Regions from separate parts of the Homo sapiens genome. Here region 2 is linked to region 1. The links are contacts of gene promoters, found by promoter capture Hi-C in blood cells and fetal thymus (Javierre and others, 2016). All regions are on one chromosome and are shown on one strand. Each heading gives the region's core, a stretch centred on a gene start or on the middle of the fragment in contact. The rest is flanking DNA. Distances are from core to core; before and after follow the strand shown. Region 1 holds the start of UBALD1 (UBA like domain containing 1). Region 2 holds the start of CORO7 (coronin 7).

The links. Contacts are between HindIII fragments. The CHiCAGO score rates a contact against its expected background, and 5 or more counts as called.
Region 2: a contact is called between the fragment with the promoter of CORO7 here and the fragment with the promoter of UBALD1 in region 1, in 2 of 17 cell types (neutrophils and fetal thymus). The highest score is 8.5, in neutrophils.

What each region holds. Positions count from the first base shown.
Region 1 is chr16:4,612,486-4,618,549 of GRCh38, reverse strand. UBALD1 (UBA like domain containing 1) reads left to right here and starts at 3,662. Exons shown (of 3, transcript NM_145253.3): 1 at 3,662-3,872. The coding sequence starts at 3,753. RefSeq lists silencers at 1,929-2,158, 3,402-3,641, 3,982-4,081, 4,122-4,231, 4,312-4,481 and enhancers at 2,209-2,468, 2,306-2,877, 2,878-3,450. The HindIII fragment of the contact is 13,740 bases long and covers 1-5,072 here.
Region 2 is chr16:4,413,926-4,419,989 of GRCh38, reverse strand. It overlaps CORO7 (coronin 7), which reads left to right and starts at 3,394. Exons shown (of 28, transcript NM_024535.5): 1 at 3,394-3,531. The coding sequence starts at 3,472. It overlaps CORO7-PAM16 (CORO7-PAM16 readthrough), which reads left to right and starts at 3,394. Exons shown (of 31, transcript NM_001201479.2): 1 at 3,394-3,531. The coding sequence starts at 3,472. It overlaps LOC124903635 (a long non-coding RNA gene), which reads left to right. Exons shown (of 3, transcript XR_007064963.1): 3 at 3,029-3,265. The HindIII fragment of the contact is 33,533 bases long and covers 1-6,064 here.

The DNA of each region.
Region 1 (6,064 bases), core at 2,413-4,912:
CAGAGCTGGTTTTTACTGTGGGCCTACCCTGTGGAGCACTTTGCCCATATTAATTCATGCATATGAGCTTTGCAAAGGTTAAGGAGCAACTCTTAGCAAGAGCAAACATCTCTTGGAACCATCAGGGTTTACAAAATACTGTGGCCCCTAAGTGATCCGCAAACAGCAGGAAAGAATTTTAAACTGTATTTCCCGTGGTCAGATGGCTTCTGCCGAGGCTAAGTGCCTGCCTGGGAAAAGCCAAGACTCAGTGTCCGCCCCTTGCCTATAGGCCAGGCTCCCAGCCCCAGCCCTCAGAGACCAACTCCACTGCACCCTGACTCCCTTCCCTCCCCAGCCCTCTCCGCTATCTCAGTGCCCCAAGCCTTCCCCACCACCCTACCCTCCCACCCCAGGACATTTCAGGTCCAGTCCACTAGTTCCCCTACTGTCCTCCTCCCACCACCCAATGGGAGAGTCCTTGGTCAGGCTTGAGGGGCCCGGGTAGGAGCCGCAGCTTGAGGCAATTCCCTCCATTCCATCCAATTCCGAAGGCAGGGCAGACTCCCCTGGAACCAGACACATCAAGAACGTCGCCTAGTTCAGACCGGAGCTCTCCACCACCATCTGATCCCAGCACAGCCACAGCCACAGTGATCCCAACGTGTCCAAGGGATCAGATCTGTTTACACATTTCAGTATCCCCTAACTCACCCCCAGGGCCAGTGCCGGCCTCCCTAGGGCATTTTTTATTTTTTGGAGACAGGATCTTGCGCTGTTCCCCAGGCACAATCACGGCTCACTGCAGCCTCTGACTTCCCAGGCTCAAGCAATCCTCCTACCTCAATCTGTAGCTGGGACTCCAGAATTTTTTTTTTTTTCTTGAGACAGTCTTGCTCTGTCGTCTAGGCTGGAATGCAATGGCGCGATCTCAGCTCACTGCAGCCTCCGCCTCCTGAGTTCAAGCAATTCTCCTGCCTCAGCTTCCCCAGTAGCTGGCACTACAGGCGTGTGCCACCATGTCCGGCTAATTTTTGTATTTTTAGTAGAGACGGTTTGACCAGGCTGGTCTGGAACTCCTAACCTCAAGGGATCTGCCCGCCTCGGCCTCCCAAAGCGCTAGGATTACAAGCGTGAGCCACGGCGCCCGGCCAATTTTTTTTATTTTTTATTTTTTGTAGAGACGAGGGTCTCACTATGTTGCCCAGACTGGTCGCAAACTCCTGGACTCTAGTGATCCGCGCCCATCTCGGCCTCCTAAAGTGTTGAGATTACTTACAGGTGTGAGCCATGGAACCCAGCTAATTCTCTGTTTTTTTGTTGTTGCTTTGTTTTTTGGTTTTTTTTTTTGAGACAGAGTCTTGCTCTGTGGCCCAGGCTGCAGGGCAGTGGCGCGATCGCGGCTCACTGCAACCTCCGCCTCCTGGGTTCAAGCGATTCTCCTGCCTCAGCTTCTGGAGTAGCTGGGATTACAGGCGACTGCCACCACGCCCGGCTAGTGTTTGTATTTTTAGTAGAGAACGGGTTTCGCCGTTTTGGTCAGGCTGGTCTCGAATTCCTGACCTCAGGTGATCCGCCAGCCTCGGCCTCCCAAAGTGCTGGGATTACAGGCGTGAGCCACTGCGCCCGACCCGAACTCAGCTAATTTTCTTAAAATGTAAATCTCTGTAGAGGCGTGTTCTCAAAGTCCTGGGCCTAGGCAATCCTCCCTCCTCGGACCCCGAGTAGGTGGGATTACAGGCCACCGCGCCAGCCCGGGAGGGCATTTTCCATCTTGCAAGGCTATACTCGTCCTCCGGGTTTCCGAAATTCGCTCCCAACCCCAGCCGTTCTCACAGCCCCCACCCGGCTATTGCTCTTCTGTCGCCCCACGCTAGGTCAGGGCCAGGAAAAGAGGAAAGACTCAACAAATAGTGTCTCAACGAAGGAGGCTGGGGCCAGGGGGCGCAAGGAGCCGGACCAAGGTCACCTAGAGCTGCTATGATCGCGCCTTACCGCCCCCGGGCGCTCGAAGCGGGCTAAAGCCTCACTAGCTGTCAGCAACGTCAACCGGAAGCGCCATGTGCCGGTCTGTAAACACCGCCCGGTCGCCCCGCCCCCGGCTCCGCCCCCGGCCTCCCCGGCCCAGCGCCCGCCCCCGCCGCCTCTTCATTGGGCGACCAGCTTTGTTTACCTTATATGGCCAGGTCCTAACACCCCGAGGCTGTCCATTGGTCGAGGCACGACCTCACTCAGCTGACGTCACCGGGACCAAACGATGCAAATAAACCGAGGCATTCTGGGAAAGGGAGTTTGGGGCCGCTCCGGAACTGGCTCTGCCGGGCCTTGGCGCCCGCCCGCTAAGGGCCGAGATTTCCGGCAAAGAGCACGAGATTTTGCGTGGGAAAGCGGGAGAACTGCTGGGAGGGGGACCCCGAAGCACCAGAGGCTGCTGGCCCCGCCAGCCTGTCCCAGGCGCCGTCCAGAGGGTCATGGGGCTACAGTGGGGCAGGCCCAGAGCCAGGCTAGGAAGGACCCATGCCACGAGTGGGCGATGAGAGATTGAGTGAGGAGAGCTAGGAGGCTAGCTATAGGCGGTGACGTGCGGCGGAGCTTTTAAGTGGCTCATTCATTCATTCACTGAACGAGTATTTGTCGGCGCCTACAGTGTGCCGGGCCTTTCAGCCTAGACCAGCCGATTTGGGCCAAAATTCCTAGAGACCCCTCTCTTAAGGGCGTGCCTACTATTTAACACAGAGCGATGCCAATCACAGAGGGGTTCAGGGTCCCTAGGTCTTAGCAAAGACGCCTGTGGCCCGGCGTTTGCGCCCATGCACAGATCTGTATGCCCCACCTTGGGACCCCAATTCGTGCCAGAGCAGGGGCACGGGTGCCACCGAGAGCAATGAGGGCGACATGGACGTGCCTGGCTCTGGTCACGGTCTGGACAGCTGCGCACAGTAGGCACTTAGCGTTCAGTCACAGTCCCCGGGGCATGGCAAAGACGTCTGTGGCCTGGCGTTTGCGCCCATGCACAGATCTGTGGCCCCGGCCTCTGGGCTCCTAATTCCCGCCAGAGCAGGGGCGTGGGTGCCACCGAGAGCAACGAGGGCGACGTGGACGTGACTGGCTCTGGTCCCAGCTCAGGCGCCTGCACACATTAGGCACTCAGTTTTCAGACACCGTTCCTGGGCCTTGGCAAAAACGCCTATGCACGAACCTGAGGCCCCCGCCTGCGGACCTCCATCCGTGCCAGAGCAGGGGCCGGGTGCCACCCAGAGCAACGAGGGCGACGTGGACTCCCCCAACCCTGGTCACGGCCCGGGCATCCACACACAGTAGGCGCTCACAGTTCAGACACGGTCCCCAGGCCTTGGCCAAGATCCTGTGGTCAGGCATTTGCGCCCATGCACAGACGTGGCCCCCGCCAGCGGACCCCCATCCGTGCCAGAGCAGGGGCACGGGTGCCACCGAGAGCAACGAGGACGACGTGGACGCGCCCGGCTCGGGTTACGGCCCGGACATCCGCACAGCGGGCGCTCGGTGCTCAGACACGCCCCTTCCCGGGCTTCGCGTCCCCTAGGGTGCCGGCCCCGCTCCCCCGGGGCGCCCGGCGCACCGTGGGGACTACATATCCCAGCATGCCGCGGCGCCGGCGGAGCGAGGCGAGGCGCGGTGAGTCAGAGCCGCACAGTAAATATTTGTATTAGCCGGAGCCGGCTCGCTAATGGTGGACGCGTGAGGCGGAGGCGCGGGCGGAGGAGGGAGGCCGGAGCGGGCAGCGCGGCGGCGCCATGTCCGTGAACATGGACGAGCTCAAGCACCAGGTCATGATCAACCAGTTCGTGCTGACGGCGGGCTGCGCGGCCGACCAGGCGAAGCAACTGCTGCAGGCGGCCCACTGGCAGTTCGAGGTGCGCGGCGCCGGAGCCGGGCGAGGGCCGGGGCCACGGGCGGAGTGTGTCCCGCGTGGCCGCCGGGCGGGGGCGGACGGCGTGGACGCGTGCCGGCTGTGCGCCCCCTCCGGGCCGCAGACCCGACCCGCTTTCCCGACGGCGGTGCCCGGCGTCCGGATCCCAAGGGCTCGCGGCGGGCGGAGGTGGGAACCGGGCCACCGGTCGGGGATACGCCGCCCCCGCGGGGCCGCGAGTCCCCCGGGATCGAGACGGGGACCCCCCCCACCCCTTTTGTCCGGGTAACGGCCGAGGGCCGGGCGGCCCCGCGGTGCAGACGGACAGTCGGGCGGGCGGCCGGAAGGAGGACGCCCCAGGCCTCGGCAGAGCTGGGCCGGAGGGCGGAGCCGCTCCGGGCGAGTGGTCCGAGGGTCCGCGTGCCTGGTGGGCGGTCGGCGGCGTGCGCACACGTCCATGTGCATTTGTGTTTACGCACGCACCGCGCCACGGCGTCGGCCGGGCACCGGGGAGGTGGCGGACCTGCGGGCACGTTGGCGCGCGTGTGAACGCGCAGCCCCCTGGTGCGTTTGGTGTGTGATCAACGCGTACACATGTGGCGGGTGTGCAGATGCCGCCCGTGCCCGGCACGGTGTGATGTGTGTACACGGCCTGGAGTGTAGGGGTGGCGTGTCGGAGCCCCACACTACACCACAGGGATGAGCGTGTATCCCCTTCAGAGGTGTGCCTGGGGACTCCGTGTGCGCGACTAGGTGCTCTCCTGGGGCTGGCAGGGGCATCTGTCCCTTTACCGGTGCAATGGGGAGGGTGCACACGGTTCACCAGCTTTCGGGCTAGCTGGGTAGGAGGTGATGCTGCCCCGGTCTGGCACCCACTCCCCCGGGCCTCTCCTAACCCATAGGACAGTAGTGCTCCTGGCTTGTGCTGCCCAGAGGCTACCTGGCTTTCCCTAATTCACCGACCCCAGGATTAACCCCATGGTGGTTGGTATCAGGGGATGAGGCCAGAGCCCTTTGAGCTGTGCCCCTCACAGGGGTAGGGTCATGGCCTCAGCCATCCCGGTACCATCTGTGCCCAGCCGGGGACTGGGAACCTGGTTTCTCCATGAGGAGCCATCCCAGGGCCTGCAGGAGGGACTAGAAGCCAGAGGACTCTGAGGCTCCGCTTCCTGGGGACTGCAGGGGGATCAGAATGTCCCAAGCTTGGGACAGTCTGGGAAGGCAGTGGCCATCCCATCCAGATGAGTACATCCCTCTCTCCTTGCCTACTTCCCTCCTACCAGCCGTCGCGGAGGCCACTGATCCTGTGTGGTGTTCACCCCAGGACGTGGGAGGCTGCTCTGTCCCTCTGGCCTTAGTTTCCACATCTGTATGGTGGGGTTGGGGGGCATGAGTCAGCTTCTGTTGGCCAGCTTACTGCCCCCTGTGCCCCAAGGCAGCCCCACCCGGAGGAAGCTCCCTGCTTCCCTCCTGGTCTCCACAGCCCTCATCAGCCCTGTTTGTGTCAGGGGCTGGATGTGGCAAAACTTGCAAAACCGCATTCATGGCAGTTACACATCTGCACGCAGGGTTCCCTCGCTGCCTGGGGCTGGGCAGGTAGGTGTCCGGTGGGAAGCGGGCCCTGCCTGCAGGACTCAGCCCAGCCCTCAAAACCTGGCACCCAGCTGGCACCCAGGCCACATCCCTCAGCGGCACAGTTAATTGAAAATGCAGCTTTGAGGAGTGCAATGTCTGGGGAAAGACTGTTCCCAGAGGGGCAGGAGCATCTGGGGCCTCTGGTGGCTCCCAGGGTCCCCATGGGAGGAGCCCTGTGCCCTCCACTCCCAAGTCTCAGTTGTGCCATCTGTAAAGTGGGGGCCGCCAGGGAGGCTGGAGGAAGGTGACGGGACTTCAGGCCTTGGAATGGGGCTGAGTGAGGGGTTCACATGGCCACCCCATCCCTCTCCACGCTCCACCCGCTGGCTGCATCCACCAGGCGGTGTTTCTGGGTCACATTTGCTGCAATTCAGGTGCTAATGGGGGCAGGAGGCTGCAGGGGGAGGGGCCGGTGTCTAGTGGGGCAGATGTTTCTCAATGGAGAATGCTCACAGCGGCCTGCAGAGGGGGTCTGGTGTGGCCTGGGGCTCCTGGGGTTGGGATTTACACAGTGAGCCTGGGCTTTGGGGCACAGCTGCTGCTGACAGAGGGTCTTGGGGT
Region 2 (6,064 bases), core at 2,145-4,644, 200 kb after region 1:
ATTTTTACAAACGGACACCACCCCGCCCACAAAGAAAAAAAACAACAATAAAATAAGCTCTGAAAGATGAAAAGACTTGTCCAAGGCCACACAGCTAGTAAGTGAGTGAATGAAGACCCAAGCCCAGGTCTTCTCACAACAAAACTGTGTGTTTTTCCTTTAAACCACGTGCCTATCAATCGTCATTGCGATCAGTATCTCCCAAGCATATGGCTCTTGGGAGTTTCTGAAGTACTTTCTCATGCTTATTTTCATTTGCTTTTCACAACAAAAGAGAGGCAGGGCAAGCATTTATTACTACCATGGGTACAAACTGCTGCCCTGCCTTTCAAGGACTTCTGCTGCAACTGGACACAAATGGATCCATCCCAGGCTTGTTGCCAAAGACTGCAGAAGCCACAAGCTACACCTATCCTCAGTGCCAGTCAGAATATGATCCCGTGTTCTCCAGGCAGAAGCTCAAAAATGTGAGCTTTAAGGAGAAACAGGCCGGGCACAGTGGCTCACGCTTGTAATCCTAGCACTTTGGGAGGCCGAGGTGGGCAGACAGCCTGAGCTCAGGAGTTTGAGACCAGCCTGGGCAACATGGCGAAATCCCATATCTACTAAAAATTCAAAAATTAGCCAGGCATGGTGGTATGCACCTGTAATCCCAGCTACTCGGGAGGCTGAGGTAGGAAAATCACTTTAATCCAGGAGACAGGTTATGGTGAGCTGAGATCACACCATTGCACTGCCTTGGCAACAGAGACTTTATCTCAAAAAAAAAAAAAAAAAAAAGGAGAAACAAATGTTACTTGCAAAGGGAACACAAAGTCGTAAGCGTTTCCCCCTCCACACTTTCATTTCACTAGACCAGCAATTCCACAGAGCACTTTCCCCATCTCCTGAGCTGTGGATATCTGTGAGAGCTGCGAAGGGGTTTAATGGTGCTCCCCGACAGTGCTGGGCTGAAGGCAATGGGAGACAAGACGGTCTCTGTGATTTCTTGCTGAAACCACTGATCATTTGAAGTATAATGGGACTGGCCAAGTTCATGGCTGCCAATGGCTGCAACTCTCCCATGTGAGCTCAGAGATCTTTTACAGAGGGCAGAAGAGCCTGAGCCCAGCTCTTCAGGGGCATGATTTGTCTTAAGTATAGCATTTTCTTTACTTCACACAGAGTATAGGACAATTCCAAGTGGGTGAGGAATGTGTGGTCCAGATGTTCTGGTCTGTGATGTCTGTAGCAGGTGCAGTTCCCTATGAAAGGGGATGATGAGCTGTGCCTCGGTCGCCTAGGATCCAGTGGGACCACTGTCCTGATGATTTTCTTTCTTTCTTTTTTTTTTTGAGACAAAATCTCGCTTTTGTCTCCCATACTGGAGTGCAATGGCATGATCTCGGCTCATTGCAACCTCCACCTCCCGGGTTCAAGTGATTCTCCTGCCACAGCCTCCCGAGTAGCTGGGATTACAGGCACCTGCCACCACGCCTTGTATTTTTAGTAGAGACGGGGTTTCACCATGGTGGCCAGGCTGGTCTTGAACTCCTGACCTCAGGTGATCCACCCACCTCGGCCTCCCAAAGTGCTGGGATTATAGGCGTGAGCCACCATGCCCAGCCACTTGATGATTTTCTTTTTTTTTCTTTTTTTTTTTTTTTTTGAGACAGAGTCTCGCCCTGTCACCCAAGCTGGAGTTCAATGGCACGATCTCGACTCACTGCAACCTCCGCCTCCCGGGTTCAAGCAGTTCTCTGCCTCAGCCTCCCAAGTAGCTGGGATTACAAGCACCCACCACCACGCCCAGCTAATTTTTATATTTTTAGGACAGACAGGGTTTCACCATCTTGGCCAGGCTGGTCTTGAACTCCTGACCTGGTGATCCACCCACCTTGGCCTCCCAAAGTGCTGGGATTACAGGCGTGAGCTACCGCGCCCGGCCAACCTGATGATTTTCTAAAAACCTTTTTGGACTGGGCGCAGTGGCTTATGCCTCTAATCCCAGCACTTTGGGAGGCTGAGGCAGGTGGATCACTTGAGGTCAGGAGTTTGAGACCAGCCTGGCCAACATGGCAAAATCCCATCTCTACTAAAAATACAAAAATTAGGAGTAGTGGCGCACACCTGTAATCCCAGCTGCTTGGGAGGCTGAAGCAGGAGAATCGCTTGAACTCAGGAGGTGGAGGTTGCAGTGAGCTGAGATGACACCACTGCACTCCAGCCTGGGCAACAGAGTGAGACTCTGTCTCAAAACAAACAAACAAAAAGCCTTTTCAATAAACCACAAGTGACTTTGGTTCACAGTAAATACACTTCTGCCCGAACTAAGATAAAATGTAAGCATTGCTTTTCAAACCTTAGAAATGCAAGAATCAGCTGGGTGCGTTGGCTCATTCCTATAATCCCCACACTTTGGCAGGCCAAGTTGGGAGGACTGCTTGAGTCTCGTTCGAGACCAGCCTGACCATCATGGTGAAACCCCGTCTCTTACTAAAAATAAAAAATTAGTTGGGCGCGGTGGCAGGCGCCTGTAATCCCAGCTATTCGGGAGGCTGAGGCAAGAGAATTGCTTGAACCCGCGAGGCAGAGGGTGCAGTGAGCTGAGATCGCGCCACTGCACTCCAGCCTGGGTGACAGGGACTCCGTGTCAAATAAATGAATAAATACTAAAGAAAAATTAAAAGCTATTATTATTATTATTTTTAGAGGCAGGGTCTCTTTCTGTCTCCCAGGCTGGAGTGCAGTGGCACGGTCACAGATAACTGCAGCCTCGACCTCTTGGGCTCAAGGGATACTCCTGCCTCAGTCTCCCAAAGTTCGGGATTACAGACCTGAGCCACCGCGCCTGGCCGGATGCAGAGCGCCTGGCCGGATGCAGAGGCTTTTGAGTAGGCCCGGTGGACAGGGATTTGCTTTAGACCTGGGCCCCTGTTCCCCCTCTGCCTCTTACCACTGGTGTGACCTGGGGACCGACAGTTTACACTCTCCTTTAGCCGGGGGTTTCCTGTCTCTGAAATGGAGCTAATTTCTCCCCTCTCTACAGGAAGAGGTAGATAGTGCTGGAAGGCGTGCTAGGTACACCGCAAAGACTCCACAGCAAATCCTGCACACAAAATCGCGAATGCTGCAGCCGAGACCCCACGCAAGCAAGCACCGCAGGAGACGTGGGCTGACAGCTGCGCCCCACGTGACCTCCCACCCGCGCCAGTCCGTCCCCTCGGTATCAGGGCGTGGCCTCGCGGGGCGGCCGTACCTGGATTGGCCGGGAGGCGGGACCGGTGGTGCGCGCGCGAAAGGAGAGGGGCTTGGGGGCGTGGCCCAGGGGGCCGGAGACGGCTGCGATTGGCAGTGGGGCGCGCCGGGGGCGTGACCGCGGCATTGGGTCCCGGGTGGGGCCGAGGCAGCGGGAGTCGCGGTTGCTCAGCGTGCACCTGAGACCCGACGCCCGGGGTCCTCGAAGACGCGTCCGCCGCCGTGCCCGTCGCCATGAACCGCTTCAGGGTGTCCAAGTTCCGGCACACCGAGGCTCGGCCGCCCCGCCGCGAGGTGAGTCCGGCCCGAGGACCGGGCGCTGTCGCCTCGGGCCCCGTCCGGCTGCCCCTCCCCCTGCCCGGACCCCACAGGGGTGCCCTCCAGGGCCGTCTGGAACCCCGAGACCTCCATCCCCGGGGAACCCCCCTTCAGGCCAGGGCCCCGGCGTCCGGGCCGTTTCGTCGCCGCCGGAGGGCAGAGTCCGGCACTCCCGTGACTCGCTCTGGCGCTCGGTGACCCTGGCGGTCTGCCCGCCTCGCCCACCTCGCCCCGGGACCCCCGAGGCGGCGCAGCCCTCCTAGCCGGGGCCCAGGCCTGCGAGGCCGCCTGCCTTCCCAGCTTCCGGTCGGCCTCGCCGGGAGCCGGGGCTCGGGGCGCTGCCGGCGCCTGGCTCCTCCTCCCTGCCGCCCCGGGTCGCCCCTGCCCCTGGCTGGGCTGTGGGGAGACGCCCCTCTCTCCTCTGGCCCCGGCGAGCCCAAGTGTGTCAGTGGTGGGGAGGGAGCCCCTCGGCCGCACGCGCCCCTCCCTCGGGTTTCCGCCGGTGCTTCCTCCTCTCGCCGCTGGCGCAAGCTCTTTCTTTATCTCGGTGATGCTGCCACGGCTGGGTGGGGCCTGGGGAAGCCTGAGCAGGTGGAGCCCCAAAGAATTGCTGAGCCAGGTGCCGGGAGACCCTTCGGACCCCCGAAACGGCAGGAGGACTGATGAGGGGTGCGCCTTGGAAACGATGTCAGCTCTGCTCTTCCGCTTTCCGTGTTATTTGTAAGGCCTGGGAGTGTCCTCCGATAACTGGGCCTAGGAGTTGACCTCAAGTGACCCCATCAGGGTCCCAGAGCAAGTCAGGGCAGTCTGGGTAGAGGTTCCGTTTTTGTAGTGTGGACTATATTTCCTCTGCTTCCACTTTATGCTGTGCTAAGCTGCTGGAGACATCCCGGTGAACACAACGGCATTTTCCTTCCCCTGTGGCACTTGTAGCCTCATGAGGGAGACAGCAAGCAGACAAACAAGAGCATTGGAGGTTTTCATAACGACATTGAAGAACACACATGAGGGACTGGGATGGAGAATGGAGGGGGCCAGTCTCAGTAGCGTGGTCAGGAAAGGCTGCCTGGAGTAGATGGCATTTTAGCTGAGGCCAGAAGGGTGAGAATTGAGAAAGAGCCTGGTGGAGAAATGGAAAGTGAGCATGAGTGGATGGAGGGGATGGCCGGAGCAGTATGGTGACAGATGAGTCCAGAGTGGTCCTGCAGAACCCAAGGGCCACCGGAAGAAGTTGGGTTTTATTCTGATTGCAGTGCAGAGCCATTGAAAAGTTAGGGGGAGGGGCTGGATACCATGACTCACGGTAATCCCAGTACTTTGGGTGGACTGCTTTGAGCTCAGGAGTTCGAGACCAGCCTGGGCAACATTGCGAAACCCCTCTGAACAACAAGTTAAAGAAAAAAAAATTAGCCAGGTGTGGTGACTCACTCCCGTGGTCCCAGCTACTTGGGAGGCTGAGGTTGGAGGATCTCTTGAGCCGAGGAAGTGGAGGTTGCAGTGAGCCGAGATTGTGCCACTACACACCAGCCTGGGCAATAGAGTGAGACACTGTCTCAAAAAAAGAAAAAAACAAACAAGAAAAGTTAGGAGGAGGTACCTAGGTTTGCATCAAGACAGCCGGTGGCTCTGAGTGCAGTTAAGTACTGCTTGGAGGGGTCTGGAGAATACTTGAGGGGCCCTAATTCTTGCTCCTGGGTGGGCCTTAGTCCAGCAACATAAACAGATAGGCATGGAACTACAGACTGTAGGGAGAGCTTAAAACAGTTTATGTTAGGGAGGCGGGAGAACAGGTGATCTGTTCTTTTCAGAGATATTTGCAGTCACTGTGTTTATACAGTAAACATGAATCAGGAGGGAGAAATAATAGGGTGGGACTGATGCTGTAACCATGGCAGGTGAACACTGATATAGAAACTTCAGGTGGTGGAGGTGGTTTCCGGGGTGCTATGGGTGGGTGGAGTGGGAAACATGGGTGTCCTGTCATCGAGGGCAGGAAGGAGTGCTGAGCGGTGCTTTGACAACAGAGAAAATGTGTGGACCTTGCAGATCTTAGTTTCAGAAACGTGCTCCTCTGCCTCCCCTTGGGTGGGGGTGTTTCTTTTACTGACTTATGAGACTTTGTGGAAAGGTGTGTCCTGATGAGGCCAGGCCTTGGTGGTTCCCCTCTCTGAGCTTGGGTGTTTTTCTCCGGGTACTTGGAGGAGGCCTGGCCACATTTTGCATTTTCTTTTTTTTTTTTTTTTTGAGATGGAGTCTCGCTCTGTTGCCCAGGCAGGAGTGCAGTGGCATGATCTCGGCTCACTGCAACTTCCGCCTCCCAGGTTCAAGTGATTCTCCTCCCTCAGCCTCCTGAGTAGCTGGAATTGTATGTAGGTGCCCGCCACCATGCCTGGATAATTTTTGTATTTTTAGTAGAGATAAGGTTTCACCATGTTGGCCAGGCTGGTTTCGAACTTCTGACCTCAGGATGATCTGTCTGCCTCAGCCTCCCAAAGTGCTGGGATTACAG